Regions from separate parts of the Homo sapiens genome. Here region 2 is linked to region 1. Evidence: promoter capture Hi-C in human tissues and cell types (Jung and others, 2019). All regions are on one chromosome and are shown on one strand. The core of a region is centred on a gene start or on the middle of the fragment in contact, and the rest is flanking DNA. Distances in the headings are between cores, read along the strand shown. Region 1 holds the start of CLDN15 (claudin 15). Region 2 has its middle 70 kb from the start of CUX1.

Region 1 (2,700 bases), core at 138-2,637:
CGGGGGTGAGCTCTCAAGCCCCGCTTCACAGCCAGTGTCGCCCTCGGCTCCTTCCCTGCCACACGGTGCCTGGTGAGTGGACTGGCCCTGAAGGACCCAGGAGGGCGTGCAGCGGCACCACACACAGTTCACGGTCGCCAGCGCTCAGTCTCTGGCATAGGGCAGACGGAAGGGAGACTGCCCCGGAGAAACAATGGGGCGGCCTCATCTTAGCGGGGAGCAGGGAGCGGGAAGGTGCCGCAGCCACAGAAAGAACTGCCCTGGGCCCAAAGAGCTGTTGGCTCCAGCCCTCTAAGACCCCAGAAAGACACTGTCCTGGAAGCCCCACACACCTGCACACACACCGCCTCCTTACAGCGGACGCTCAACCTGCAACTTGCAAGACGCCTCCCTTCACAGGGGCCCTTTATAGACATCAGCCGGACAAGGAGACCAGTGCCCCCCGACAGTGAGGCTGGGGAGTCTGTGGAGCCTGGAAGTTGATCAACCTCTAAGAATCCAAGATGGGGCCTCCTCCCCCTGCCCACCCCAGCAATCCCACCCCCAAAACATGCTCAACCGTACTGAGTGCCTATGTGTGTTAACATCACGCTAACATTCTGCACTTTCTCAGTCACCTGTGAACTGGGACTCTCACCCTAACCCTACAGGTGGGAGATGAAGCTGGTTTCATCATTTGCCCACAGCACAGGGCTGGGAAAGGGGGTCTGATTCTGGTGCCTGCACCTGTAACAGCTAAAAGCGCCACACTAGCGCAGGGGGCCACGTGTGGCAAGGTCTTCACTCCAGTTCTAGGCATGGGCCGCCCCCAGCACTCCTGGCTGCGGGAACTCAGACCCGCAGAGCTTAATTCAGGGCTCCCTGCATCCTCACGGAAGTACCCGCCCTCCCCTGGGGTCTCTGCAGCTTCCCCGCCGCCCTCTCTCCCTGGAGCGCTCCCCACCCCATACCAGAGAGGGCCAGCATGGACGGGAACTCCCAGCAGTTGTAGACGCCCAGGGAGTCGGTGGCACAGCTAAACCAGAGGTTCTCGAAGATGGTGTTGGTGGTGATGACGTTCCCGTGCACAGTGGACACTCGCCAGTAGCTGTTTGGCAGAGTCACCCCCAGCATCAGCAGCCCCACAGTTGCCATGAAGAAGCCAAAGGTTTCCACAGCCATCGACATGGTGGGATGCAGGACCCTGGGGGGCTGGTGCCCCAGAGAGGGGGAGGGGCAGAACCCCTAGGGAACTGGAAGGGGCTGCGGCTAAGGAGGGTTGTCCAGGCAGGCTGGGGTGGAATCAGCCTCAGCCTCTGCCTGCCTCTTCCTCGGGCTCAGGTCCGTCTCCACTTTCTGCCTCCCTCCTGCTCTGTGGGTCTCTCTGCTTCCTGGCAGGTCAGAGGAATGAGCTAAGCCTGCGCGCGGCAGCTGTTGACGAGATGGAGGGAATAACCGAAACGGGCCAAAAGTCCACCCCCTCCCCCCAGCCTCTGGGCTGCCCCGGGCTCCCCGCCCCACGAGGGTGGGGGGGGCAGACTTACCCTGGAGCCACTGACGGATACAGCCAAGGAGGGGCCCCCAAGGGAGGCACTGGGAACTGAGGGGAAGCGTCTGTCTCTGACTCAGCTTTCATTGGGGGCCAAAGAACGGAGTAAGAGGGACAAGGAGTGAAAAGATGACAGAGACAGACGTGAGAGCAATAAGGGACAGAGACGGAGAGAGAATGAACAGCAGCCTTCAGTGGTGAAGGACGGAGGAACCACGAGAACAATCTAAGATACTCAGACCAAGGGGTTGGGGCGTATGAGTCTCTTAAGGAAGATCAAGCTGGAATGAGGGGATGGGAGGGTAGGAGACCCACAGCTCTGGGCTCCATCCAGCCTGGAATGGAACTCGGCCCCACCATCCATTCACCAGGGAACTCAGGCGGGGAGTTTTAGTCCCCTGAGCTTCTGCTCTGTCAGTGACATACCCGACTGCTTACTGCAGGGGCTGTGGTGAGAACTGGGACCAGGGGCCGGGCGCAGTGGCTCTCGCCTGTAATCCTACCACTTTGGGAGGCTGGGCTGAGACGATTGCTTGAACTCAGGAGTTCAAGACCAGCCTGGGCAACACACTGAGACCTCGTTGGGACCAGGGAGTCAAGCCCCCCACACATAACCAGCGCTTGGCACCGGGAACTGTCCTGGATGTGAGTGTCACAGGGCTGAGGCCACCAGGGAGTCGCTCTCACCCAAAACTCAAATTTCCTCCTAAGTTGATCTTTGACTCAGCATCGAGCCTGGTCCTGCTGGCCAACAGCCTGGAGCGTGATCCTGTGGCTAAGCTCTGCAACCTGTTCCCAGTTATCAGGGACTGTCACCCACTCTATTCGTTAATGATGATGGATTAGCAGCCTCTGGTCCCCATCCCGAGCCAGTGCAGAGCACCTGTCCCAGAGCAGACACTCTCATCTCCTGCTCCGGTTCCCTAGGGCTCTGTCCCTGGGGGCCATCAGCGCTGGCTGCGCACCTCCCTGGCCCCACGGCCCTGCTGGGCTTCTCCGGCCTCCCCTCAGGTGTCTCCTCCCTACTCCTGTGCTGGCCTGGGCTGTGGAACGAGAGGTATGCGGTGAAGCAAAACAGGCCCATGCCGAGCCTGGCACGAGGGGGCGAAGCTGGCTAGGTGGGGCTGAGTCCTGACCTTCCAGCCCACAGGCGAGAGCTGGGGCTCCCTGGG
Region 2 (2,700 bases), core at 22-2,521, 510 kb after region 1:
GGAAGCCCACTCCGACTGTTACCCTGGGGTTCACTGGTATCTCTGAGCACCTTGTGCTTCTGAGCCAGGCCCCCGGCTATGGAAGGGGTGGGGGCGATGCTCCTAGAGGTTGGAGGACAGATCATGAATGACAGAACAGTCTGATTTTCCTGGAGGACGCCCCTCCTTAGACAGGGCAAGCCCCCAGCCAGTGCCTCCTCCTTCCCAGCACTCAATGCTCCTCCTCTGCCTCCTTCACCTTTCACTTCCTCTTCCTCCACCTTCTGCTGCTCACCAGAGTCCAACTCACATTTCTTTAAAAACTTAAAATGGGCTAAGTGCATGGTGGCATGCACCTAAAATCCCAGCACTTTGGGAGGCTGAAGCAGGAGGATCGCTTAAGGCCAGGAGTTCGAGGCTGCAGTGAGCTATGATCACACACTGCTGCACTCCAGCCTGGTTGACAGAGATCCCATCTCTAAATATTAATAATAATAGACTGGGTGTGGTGGCTCATGCCTGTCATCCCAGCACTTTGGGAGGCTGAGGAGGGCAGATCACCTGAGGTCAGGAATTCGAGACCAGCATGGCCAACGTGGTAAAACCCTGTCTCTACTAAAAATACAAAAATTAGCCAGGCCTGGTGGCGGGCACCTGTAATCCCAGCCACTCGGGAGCTTGAGGCAGGAGAATCACTTGAACCTGGGAAGCAGAGGTTGCAGTGAGCTGAGATCGTACCACTGCACTCCAGCCTGTGCAACAGACCATGATTCAGTCTCAAAAATTAATAATAATAATAATAAAATAAAGCTTCTTTGATGAACGGATCCAAAATTTTCCGATCAGAAAATCTAGAAAGAAGGTATTTTAATTTCAGCATATGTGTAAGTTTCATGGTTTCAGGGGTGTCCAAGGGAGAGAATACAGTCACAGGCTCTTAGTTTCTGTTTCTGGTTGGGTCAGTAAATCCCCTTCCTCATCCCTCTTTTCCGCTTGTCACTAGAGACAGAAACTAAAAACCATGGTTTCAGGCTGCTAAAAGCCTAAAACAGAACAGAACAACAACAGCCAAACAAGGCAGGTTGGGCAAGCTTGATAGGGTTTAGTATCATTTTTTATTGTTTATTCTGTATGGACAGGGCACATCATCTGCTCATTGTGGGACCTGCGCAAGACCCAGATCAGGGCTACCTCCTCCAGGAAGCCTTCCAGGCTCTACAGGCTGCGTCAGGTCCTATCTGCCGTGCTCCCACAGCCCCTGGGGTCCTCACCATTGCAGTCCTCAATACGCAATATTGGAGTCATTGGTTTACCCATCCCTCTCCCTCATCACGAGCTCCTGGCGGCAGAAACTAGAGTCATTCCTCCCTGCGTCCCCAGCGGTGCAAGCAAGGTGCCAGGAACAGTTAGTGGCACTGAGTCTGAGAAGCAGGCTGGCCTGTGTAAGTTGCCTTCTGCTCCAGCTGTGTCCTGGGTTGTGATGGGATCAGACCGCCTTCTAAGAGGCCCTTTCACAAGCTTGCCACCCTCCCCCACCGGGTTGTGGGACCCTCTTTGGAGCCTCAGAGAAATCCCTTTCTTCCTGTCTCCCTGGACTCAGCCACCACCCTCCCAGCCTGCCGGGAGGGGACTCCCACAGACACCTCCCCTCCCTGTCCAGCCCGGAGGAGGGGGATCAGATGCCGGGCTGGAGGCCCCTTGTCTGCACAGAGGCAGGATTTATCTCAGTTTGGGGAGGTCTGGGGCCCCCAAAGTCCTAGATCATCATTAGTTCCATCAAAGAGGCGGCTGTGATCTCAGAGACAAGATGCATGGTGTTCAAATTGGAAACAGCCTGGTGGGCCGAGGGGCCGCGCTGGGCGGGGAGAGGGTTCGGGCCGCCTCCGGGGGACCCCAGGACACTGGAGGCATCCCACAGACGGTCACAGGAAGAGGAGGAGGAGGAGGAGGAGGAGGGAAGAGAAAACATTCCACTCAGGCTCCAGGGAAGAGAGCCGTGCACAGATGGAGCAAAGCCAAGTCTGCGAGTCAAGGCGACCTCCCCACGGAGGCTGGAGAGAAAGGATGGCCAATTGTACTCACCAGTCACCCCATGAGGGTCCTACTGCGTCCCACCCCGCACCGCAAACCTTCGTGGGCCCTGTCTCACCACCCACAGCAACCCCTGAGAACTAGAAAGTGAAGGAATGCATTGCCTTTGCTTTACAGATGGGGAAACTGAGGCTCGGGTGGGGGGAGGGCAAATGGATGTGCCCTAGATCACCAGGGGTACCTGGCACGGCTGGGGTTCCAGCCCAGGTGCCTGGGTCTCTGGAACTTCACCCTGACTCTGGAAAGCCATAGCAAGGAATTGGTTTTTTTTTTTTTTTTTTTTTTTTTTGAAACGGATTTTTGCTCTTGTTGCCCAGGCTGGAGTGCAGTCTCGCGATCTCAGCTCACTGCAACATCCGCCTCCCGGGTTCGAGCGATTCTCCTCCTCAGCCTCCCAAGTAGCTGGGATTACAGGTGCCCACCACCATGCCTGGCTATTTTTTTTTTTTTTTTTTTTTGTATATTTAATAGAGATGGGGGGCTGGGCACAGTGGCTCATGCCTGTAATCCCAGCACTTTGGGAGGCCGAGGTGGGTGGATCACGAGGTCAGGAGATCAAGACCATCCTGGCTAACATGATGAAACCCTGTCTCTACTAAAAATACAAAAAAATATTAGCTGGGTGTGGTG

Evidence for each region. The method cuts DNA at HindIII sites, captures the fragments that hold promoters and counts their contacts. A contact is called where the count stands out against the background at its distance.
Region 2: a fragment that was not itself captured here is called in contact with the fragment with the promoter of CLDN15 in region 1 in 2 of the 25 tissues and cell types used here (mesenchymal stem cells and small bowel).

Annotation. Positions count from the first base shown.
Region 1 is chr7:101,236,415-101,239,114 of GRCh38, forward strand. CLDN15 (claudin 15) reads right to left here and starts at 1,388. Exons shown (of 5, transcript NM_014343.3): 1 at 951-1,388. The coding sequence starts at 1,167. The HindIII fragment of the contact is 32,734 bases long and covers 1-2,700 here.
Region 2 is chr7:101,746,279-101,748,978 of GRCh38, forward strand. No RefSeq gene overlaps it. Among named protein-coding and RNA genes, the nearest start is that of CUX1, 70 kb to the right of the region's middle. The HindIII fragment of the contact is 5,608 bases long and covers 1-2,700 here.